Regions from separate parts of the Homo sapiens genome. Here region 1 is linked to region 2. The links are contacts of gene promoters, found by promoter capture Hi-C in blood cells and fetal thymus (Javierre and others, 2016). All regions are on one chromosome and are shown on one strand. The core of a region is centred on a gene start or on the middle of the fragment in contact, and the rest is flanking DNA. Distances in the headings are between cores, read along the strand shown.

Region 1 (4,848 bases), core at 2,038-4,537, 260 kb before region 2:
CAAAAGTAATTGCGGTTTTGCCATAAAATTAACGGTTAAACCTGATTCACCATGGGCTATCATCCATCAGAGCTGGATTTAAATTCCATGTCCTCCTCAGAGCCGCGTCTGATCTACCAAAATCAATTCCTCCCACCCTTATAATTCTAGCTGCTTTCTCTTACAGGCATTGTTACATTTTGCCCTCTGTTAAAAAATTATTTTATTCATCTCTGAATCCTCAGTATATGAGTGAGCATGAGAGGCAAAGTCGTCAATATAAGCATAAAGGGTCAGGGTTGCTGGAGGGACAGTGACCCTGCACACTCTGGTGCACACTTGCAGGTTGGAGGCGGCCCTCTGGGCCCTGAACTAAGAAACCTAGAGAGTCCCAAATTTGAGAAGAGGTTTTCCGGAGGTATTTGCTTTTCATTTACGCCCCTTTTCAGAAGTCTTGCTAATTTCAAGCAGTGTACTTTATAGTTTCTTGTGAAAATATTTTCTCAGTAGTATTTTCTGTCATTAGTCCAAGTAAGATTAATTAAAATACATGCATGTTTGGCCTTGTTAAGCAGTTTTGAGACAGATTATTCTAAGATTAAATCTGTCATGTTTAAAGCAAGATCACAGATAGAAATTGTATACTTTATTGATCAACTGTATAGTGTGTTAATATGGCTTTTAATTGATCCTTCTGAAAAAGGGAGGTTACCAGAAAGAAAACATTATAGTTATTCTTATCACCCTCTTCCCCATCCCATGAAGTTTTAGTGGGATCTTTGAATCACAAGTTGTCATGGATTCAGTTCTTTTAATTTTTAAATTTGCCACACATGCCTTTCAATGATTGACATCCCATCGCTCATTACAGGATGGCTACCAAGTCTGGAAACATGGATAAATTCACAATTGATGAATTATTGATATTACATTAAGATATGTGATAAATAATACACATTTATTTCTAGACTTTGTGGTCACCCTCTATAATGAATATTTTTCCAAGTATAATAAACACATTGTTCAAACTGTTCTTAAATCCAATTATAGTTCTTCAAGACATGTATTTATTTTCTGCTACTACTTTTGCAAATGTCACAGGTGTAATATGTGTTTTTTAAAATTAAAGTGAGCATTTTGATACACATTTAAACTAAGGCTTATTTTTTCCTGAATACTAAAGTAACACATGCCTATTGTGAGGAAATTAAAAAATATAAGAATGTACGAAGAAGGGGGACTGTCTTGTATAGTGAATTACCAAGTAATAATCATCACTTGTGTAAGTATAGTTACAGTATTTTTCTATGGGTATATTTTTTCATATTTAGGATTATATTTTTATAAAATGTATACACTTTTTCTTGATAATATGTCATAAATATGTTTCCTTATAATTAAAATACTTTGCAGGTATACTTTTAAATTCTTACATAGTTGTACACAATATAGGATATGTATATTTCATAATCAATTTAAATATTCCTCTATTTTTGAACATCTAGGTTGGTTCGGACATTTTACTCTTATAAAGAACATAGCAATAATGATCTTTGTATGTAAAACTTTCCTGGTCTAAAGCATGTACATATTTTTAAGGCTCCAAGTAAAAAATGCCAATGCATTTTTTTTTTAGCAAGATGGGACTAATTTATAATTCTACTAATTCTAATACTGAGAGTACTAACATAATACTACTAATACTAATGCCAAGAATAAATGATATTTATATTAAAAATAATATATTTATAAAATAGTGTCAATTTATTAAAAGAAAGATAACACCTTGTCAGTTTAATTGATAGGTTGAACACTTTTTTCTTAAATGTACTTGCTACTTATATTTCCTTACCTGTGAATTTCTTGCTCATGTCTTTTGTATAATGATATTTTGGTGGTCATTTATCAATTTAAATTAAGAATGCAACCCTTTGCAATATTCATCATAAATATTTACTCAGTTTTATATGTTTCTTAATTTTTGAATGACACTTTTTAGATACATATATTTTACATTTTTAGGAAAGCAAATACAGTGATTATTTTCCTTTCTGATACCTTCCAATGCTTTCAAGTTTAGAGAGTCCTCCTGATCGAGAGATCAGATCTTCGTCTTTTAAAAAATTAAGTTAAATTAGAATTTACACAGAACTGTTCACTCTCCCATAACTTAATTTGGAATGTGTTTTTAAATAAGATTTGGAAACTTAAATAAAGTCTTTGAGCTTAAGTAAAAAATAATATGTAATGATAAATTTCTGATAGCGCTTGATGATTCTGATCAAATGATCAAATTCATCTAGCCAAATTTGCATTGTCTATTTTAGACTTTAAGGACCAAATTATGTCCATATTCTATAGATCTTTAGAAGTAGAATGAGTTTTGAAGAAAAGTAACTGCGAGGGCAGTTATTAGGTGCTCTGTCTGAGTCCCGTTTCTAAGCTTGTTTGCAGCTATTGCACTTGATTTTAGAGTGAAGCTCTGTAGTTATTATTGGGCAAGCTGAACTAACGCAGTGGTGAGTCAATGGTCACTGTTCTTGCAGACATGAAATGAAGCTTAATTTTCTGAAGAAGCCACTGTCACTGATGTGAAATGGCATTCTAGTGACATTTTCTTCTCAGAAGTTAGTGCTGCTGCCTGTGTTCTGAAATTTAATCTGAGGCCCAGTGGGCAAGTGCTCCGACAGGAGTTAAGAATAATGAGTCATCCCAAGTGCCAACATCTGTTTCAAGTTGGAAATTGATGCACTGTTATTTAAAAACAGGGCTTCTGGCTTTTCACAAATGAACAATTAGCATCTCACTGCTTTAAGAATTTGAAAAATGTTTTTATTTTGCCATCTTATAACTGACTATATAGTGGTGAAATTCTCAAAATTATTTTGAATTTGTGGGAAGAACATTAACGTTATTTGCTTTCTGAATCATTTTTCCCTGGAAATTGAAATTAATTTAAAGGAAATTGTATAGGTCCAGGCACATTTTCAATGAGTGTCACTGAAGATGACAGTTTTATGTGACTAAATTTATGACTCTATGACTCAGACCAGGAGTTGTTTCTTTGGTTGGTAAGGCTAAGTCCCAACCTCAGACCCTCTGGGGCCGAGGTTATAGAATGACTATTGTACAGATGGAACAAGAGTGGGAAATAGTCCCAGGCAGGGAATGGCATCTCCATTTCATGATGAACTTCCTGTCACATTTTATTTCCCAGGTAAGTGGCAGTAATCATAACACTTTAATGAAGAAAATAAACCTTAGGCATGGAAAGATTCCAAATATTTGTATAAAAAGTGAAATGTCTACTTAATTACCCAACCACTTTTAAATAGTCAGGTTTGAGGTATTATGCAGATGAAATGTTTGAATTAATCTCTTTGTTTTTATGTGCCTGTAGTCTTAACATGGCAGATTAATAAATATTTTTATTGATTCTATTCTTGATTGACAACTTATTATTTTCATAAATATGGATTAACTGTGAGAAAACCGAACTACTGATAACTTCAGATAATGAGTTCTGTTTATTATCTTCAGCACTCCCTATCACTCACTTTACCTATTCCACTGTAAATATCTTAAGAATATTCTCAGGGGCCGGTCACGGTGGCTCACACCTGAAATCCCAGCACTTTGGGAGGCCAAGGCAGGTGAATTGCTTGAGCCCAGGAGTTTGAGACAAGCCTGGGCAACATAGTGAAAACCCACCTCTGTGAAAAATACAAAAATTAACAGAGTGTGGTGGTGCACACCTGTAGTCCCAGCTACTTGGCAGGCTGACTTGGGAGGATTGCTTGAGCCTGGGAGGTGGAGGTTGCAGTAAGCTGAGTGACAGAGCAAGACCCCATATCAAAAAAAAAAAAAAAAAAAAAAAAAAAGAATATTCTTAGAAATCTAGTTTGTAGAGAGAAAAATTCTAAAGCTCCAAAATAATTATCAACTTCGCTATCTAACTTCAATTACTGTAAAATCTATTTTATTAATTACTGGTTAAATTTGCTCTAAATTATTCTAAACAAAGGATTTCAATACTAGCAGCTGTGAATTAAGCTTCAGGATCTAGAATTCATTTCAAGATGTGTATATGCTTGTTTGTGCACATTGTACCTTTTTCCTTTCACTCATTTACAGGTATTAAATTCCCTAAGGATGTTCCAGAGAAGTTTCCATTATTCTTTCAGCAGTTAGAGAACTGCTTCCAGCTGAGCACCAGCTTATCCCACCAGCAGGAAAAAGTTTGTTCTTCCTATTATTCTAGCCGTTCACTCATCAATCTTGCTTTAGCAACTTGTTGGGCATGAAAAATTGGTTAGATGAAAGTATTCTCTTGCTTTTGGTATATTTGTTGTCTTACAGGCAGCAATAACAATGACAACAATAAACAGAAAACTAGAGAATTTTGAATATATGCTCTCTCAGGAAAAGTCTGAAAGAAAAAACAGTTATTTTTGGTGTGTTTTAAGAAGCAGCAGCGAGTGTTAACCTTAATAACAAGCAGAGAGACGCTCTATAAAAGAAAATATTTATTTTCTTGAAATAGGGCATTGCAAAGGGAATATGTGTGCCACAGTAAACTATGTGCGTATTCAGGAAGGTAAAAGAAGACCAGGATTTTTAAAAGAAAAATGATAAAGTTTACATAATTGTTTTAAGGTAATTATCCTTGGCTAAAAAAGTCAATAACCTTGCTGGTCTGAGGTTGGACAGGTAGTTGCTGGGCAGATGTCCTTGCAGAAGTATATTTTTGTGTAAAGTTGCCATGGCCTTTGTGCAAAGTTGTGGTTTTGCAGCGTCTTTTGTGATAGTTCTTGCTATTAGTCATTTATGCATGAGAACCCTTCCTTCGTGGACTTTCCCAGCTCTATT
Region 2 (5,070 bases), core at 1,395-3,894:
TAGCTAGCATGACACCACAATAAGCACTCACTGATGTTTTCTGAGTGTTTGAGCACATATCAGATCTCAGCAGACAAAACATAGCGTAAGTCCAGGAACAAGTGGATCTGCTTGATAAAACTGTAAATCAGATATACATTCCTTAATAAAATGAGGTCCATCTCATTGCAGGTTTGGATTTCTGTTGCTGCACAAGTTATTTTTCCTCTTTTAAATTCTACCCTCTATTTGATAAGTAACGTGTATGACTACAAGGGCTTATTTTTTATCCTCTACTAATTTTGCTTAAGAAATGTAAAAGTTGACATTTGCTTTTATCTTTGTTCTTATCTATCTTCCTAAGCTAAATATGAATTTCTTTCCTTTATGCTAAGAGTCATCATGAGAAGTACAGCATTTAACCAATCAGTTCAGATCCGTTCCCTCTATATGTCAGTAGTTATCCTTTTCTGGCCAATGAGCTATTGTCAAAATTCTGAAGCTACACAAGTCCAAATATAACAATCTAACTCCTGTAGTATTCAAAAGCTTCACTAAAAATTCCACTAAGTTAAAATAACAAGTACAGCCATCCCTCTTTACAATGATCTTTCCTGAAGAATCCCTTCTGATTACGGGTGTCTTCAGACACTACAGCATTTACCTAGACCTGCCTCAAAGGCAACAGGTGAAGCCTTTCTGTGCTAACTGCCTGGAATTTACCTACAGGGACTTTCCATACAACTCTAATGAAGGCTTTCCCAGCCCAGATACAAAGCTAATTATAACCAGGGTTACAAATTATAGTTACATTATCTCATAATTATGAGCTATCTAGTAGGACTTGGTTAAAAAATCATTCTAAACACCTCAGTGTGTGTTTTTTACAGTAAAAAAATCATACTGTTAAATTGTCAAAGCATTTAACTATAGTTTCCACTTAATGGAAGCATTATTTTCTGTTTAGAAGGACTTCTATTCTTCACTTGAGGTGTTTATAAAGAATGAAACTACAACTACATACTTCTGTGTAGGTAAACAGTGGGAAAATAAAGTAAGGTTTAAAAAGTTTCAAAATTTAGTCTACTTTTCACAAAATGATAATGCTTTCTAGTATCAGTAGCCAAATAACAAATTGAAGGTCTTTTTATAAGTGTTCCATAATTCAAGAAACGACAAAGTAAATAGCTTTCACAAGCTCTGGTAATATTTATGCATACAGCACTATAGAAAGTGTGCCTCAAACTTGGTTTGATTGCAAAACCGAGAGTTCAATATTCTTTCTTATAAACAAGAATAATCATCGATTCTTGAAATGTTTTCTATGCAGTTGTCCATAACTACTTCTGAAGGTATTCAGAAGAGACAAGGCAAGAGACACTTTAGTCCAACATATTTAGTTTTTAAATACACCAGACTAAGGTGGACCGGACTAAGGCTGATTCCAATTAGTCAATTACCTGTATGTGCTGCATCTGCCTTTCTCTCCGACATTACCAATGCCCGGTACTGAACAATGAATTGTTATTTAAAAAAAACACACAAACACACACACATTTTTCTAAATCAAACAGCGGTAAATACACACAGAGAGCTTGCGCCTACACAATGTGAAGTGTTGGCTGGAACAATTTATAGCAAAAGAATGATTAATGAAGCAAATCTTAGAAGCCCTCAGTCCTTTCTCTTACAGACAAGACTACAGGGAGAAGAGTAGTGCTGAATTTTGCAAATAATTGCTTTGCCTCTCCATTTTGCCTGTGTAGATTCTACCCCATCCAGATACTGCTTTACGAAACCCTGACCATACTTTGCTCAATCATGAATTAACGCTGTGGACATTACAGAGAATGCTGACTCTCAGGAACCGAGACAAAGGAGGGTGTTGCTTGGAGAAACCCAGCCAGGCGCTCCAGTACTCCGGGTTCTTGGAGGCTGCCCCGCACGGCTTCTCTCGCGCTCCCGGGACTGGGGAGTCTGGACCTGATGGCGGACTTGGTTTATTTCCCAAACTTTAGGAGAGACAGCGTTTACCTAACTCTGGAGGCTGTAGCGGAGGGGAGGGGAGGGCAGAGGGCTGAAGAAGTGCCCGGTTTCGGCTGCGGTGGCCGCCCACCCACCTCCCCACTCCCGTCAGCACCCTTTCCTTCCCCTCACCTGTCCTGAGCACCGGGCCCTGGGGGTCGGGTCGCCTCTCCCTGTTCTCAGTCCTGGTCTCACTCCAGGAGCTGTCGGGACGTCGGGCGCCTCTGGAGGCGGACGAAGAAGGCGGCAGGGTCGGGGGCGTCAGCGGGAATCTCGGCCGCCGCGGGCAGCCGCGGTCTCCCTCCCCATCCCAGGGCTCGGGCGGCCACCGCGGGCGGATGAGTCAGGCGAGGGGGCGGGTGGCAAGGGGTGCAAGCGGACGGAGGGTGGGGGCGCCCCTATGCCCGCGCCGGGGGGGCACCGGAGGCCTCGGGGCAGGGGATGCGCCGCTGCCGGTGCTCACAGAGGGCCGCCGCCATCCGGGCGCAGAGTCCAGGCGCGCCTGCCCTCGGAGGGCACCGGGCGCAGCAAGCCGGGCAGGGGAGAGGGAGTCGCCGCTCAGGCGGCGCCGCCACCGCGTCCAAGAAAGACAAAAGGGACCGGGAACGGGAGGGGAAAAGTTTTCTGCTCGGCTCCAGATGGATCCCAGCCCCAAACCTCACGCCATAAAGCCCCGAAGAGGCGGGTTGGGGGCGGGGGCCGGGGCGGACTTCCAGGGGCGTGGCTGCGCGCCTGCGACCCCGGACCGTGCCAATCTCGCCGCCGCCCCAAAACCTGTGGGAAACCCCAGTCCTGCCACCCACTCCTCCTGGAGGACGCAGACAGGATCTGCTCTGCAGGAGCCCAGGCCGGCCGATCCGCGTCCCGGCCACAAAGTTGCACTTCGAGAGCCCAAATCACCCGCAGACAAAACCCATCTTTGGGAACAAAGTACCCGCTTGCAGGCGCTCTTCCCGGGCTGGAAGGCTGGCGTGCGGAAACGGACACACCCACCCGTGGGGCCCGCCTCTAGCTACCGCGGGACCACCGGTTACCGAGCCAGGGACCCGGCTCCCCCAGTTCTCCGGAGCGGCTGGGGAGCTCCAGCCGACTCGCAGTATTCCCGGAGCAGGCACCGCAGGACCCTGGCTCCACGCCCCTCGGACGCTTTCTCCTCAGATGCCGCCCGGCGGGCCGGGGTCCCCCTGGCGGGCTGCGCGGGCGCTGCGCGAGCTAAACCAAACCTGGCCGGAAAAGACGCGGCCAAGGCCCGCTCCGTCCACGCTTCCCGCCGGCCCGGCAAGGGGTTCCGGAGAACGGCTTGGGGGGGCGAGAACCATGGGCGGGGGAAATGGAAGACAGAGGGAACTGAAGCACGGGGGTCTTCGATGAGCAGTGCGGATGTTCGACTCCAAACATCAAAGCCAACGAGAGGTTCAGGTTACTCCTCCTTGACCCCAAACATCCAGTGAGTGGAGACTGGCCTGTTCACAGAGTAAAATATGTCGTCTCTAATTCGGCAAAGACGGTGATGACTGTATATATGCAGGCCAATTCCGTAAGTAAAGTTTCATGTAAAACTAATTACCGGATATTCCAACCACCCCCTGTGCAGGCCAGCCGCATGCACAAGGTGTGTGCTATGCTTGTGTCCCCTGGATCTGTTTTAAGTGATAGAAGGCAAGTATGATATTCTGGTGCAGTGTATTTGTTTATTTCGGCGTGTGATCTGTTTATCTCGTTTTCAAGAAAAGTTTGCTTCTGGGGGGGTATAAAATCCGTGTTTGGGGGGTGGGGGAGAGCCATGCAAAAATTTCCACATTAGAAAAAAAAGTCTTTAAAATCAGATATGGCAATGAGAAGAGACTGTAGAAATGGATTTCCTGTGGTATAACCTTCTTGCCTTGACTAGAAGAATTTAGAGATTGGGCACTTTTAGTGGAGATGTCACAATCAAAATGTTTTATAAAAAGAAAGAAAAGAAAACTAAAGGAGTTACGGTGGGGGAAGGATGAGTCACCTTTATAAACCATCTGTGGTTTTATTTTTACCCCACCTGCATCTAGTATTCTAGCCCACAGCCACCTGCTCAATTCTCTTAGGTTTTCTTAAATGTGTTTGTCAAGCACCATATCAAAGGAGTGTGCTTCCATTGGGCCCTCTTCCTAGTTACCTCTACATTTTATAAAGAAACACCCTGAAGCCACATTGTCTGTAAAGCTCCTGAGAGGAAACACCTCCTGGTTCCCCTCACTATCTAAGGAGTGAGTAATAGGAATAGGCTCATAGTCCATAGATCATTTGAGGTGACATCCTCTCTAAGACCCATGGTAAAACGTTTAAAATGGTCATCTAGCCATTTTAAGCATTGAGTGACTGAGCCGTCCTCAAAAAGAGACTGATGAGAGCCATGAAAAAAGGAATAAGCACATTCTTAAGGCCACAGATATTGATGCTTCCTCATTTATGAACTATGAACTCAGATTTTAGTGATTTACCAAAAAAGAAGAAAGATAGACTAAGTAAAATCACCAAAAGGGAATTATTTAGATTTCTTTTTAAAATAATTACTATTAGTCTCAGAAGAGGCGGGTAAAATGGCCTGTAAATAGAGGATTATTTGCAATTCAGTAGTCCGAGCAACTCTCAACACATTAGTTATAAATTTTCCCTGACCTTGAGTGCTCAAGGGAATCTCAGGTAAATTATTTATCCTTACTAATGGCCAATATCTTCCCATCTGACAGTGAATATACCATGCCAGTAATGGATTTTGAATTCAGCTACACATCGGCTTTGGAAATAATGGATAGAAGTCAACTATTTTCTACTTCTCGCCATCAAGTAGCACTGCACTTCACACATAATATTTTTTGCTGTGTCTATATGAGATATGTAAATTTCCACTAGAACAAGCCCATCTTATAAGAGTGCATAGTAGAAAGAGAGTAATCCAAGTGTCCTGTAATCCAAGCTCCACCACCTACTAACAGAGGGACTTGGTACCTCATTTCTCCCATCCCTTAAGTAGGAACAAAGTATCTATTTCAAAGTGTTGTGAAAATTGAATGAAATGATGTGTATAAT

Evidence for each region. The method cuts DNA at HindIII sites, captures the fragments that hold promoters and counts their contacts. A CHiCAGO score of 5 or more calls a contact.
Region 1: a fragment that was not itself captured here is called in contact with the fragment with the promoter of TMEM200A in region 2 in 2 of 17 cell types (activated CD4 T cells and megakaryocytes); the score reaches 5.3 in activated CD4 T cells.

What each region holds. Positions count from the first base shown.
Region 1 is chr6:130,624,216-130,629,063 of GRCh38, reverse strand. No RefSeq gene overlaps it. Among named protein-coding and RNA genes, the nearest start is that of SMLR1, 200 kb to the left of the region's middle. RefSeq lists a silencer at 2,586-2,880. The HindIII fragment of the contact is 1,494 bases long and covers 2,541-4,034 here.
Region 2 is chr6:130,363,591-130,368,660 of GRCh38, reverse strand. TMEM200A (transmembrane protein 200A) reads right to left here and starts at 2,644. Exons shown (of 3, transcript NM_001258277.2): 1 at 2,137-2,644. It also overlaps a transcript of SAMD3 not described here. RefSeq lists a silencer at 3,111-3,210. The HindIII fragment of the contact is 9,800 bases long and covers 531-5,070 here.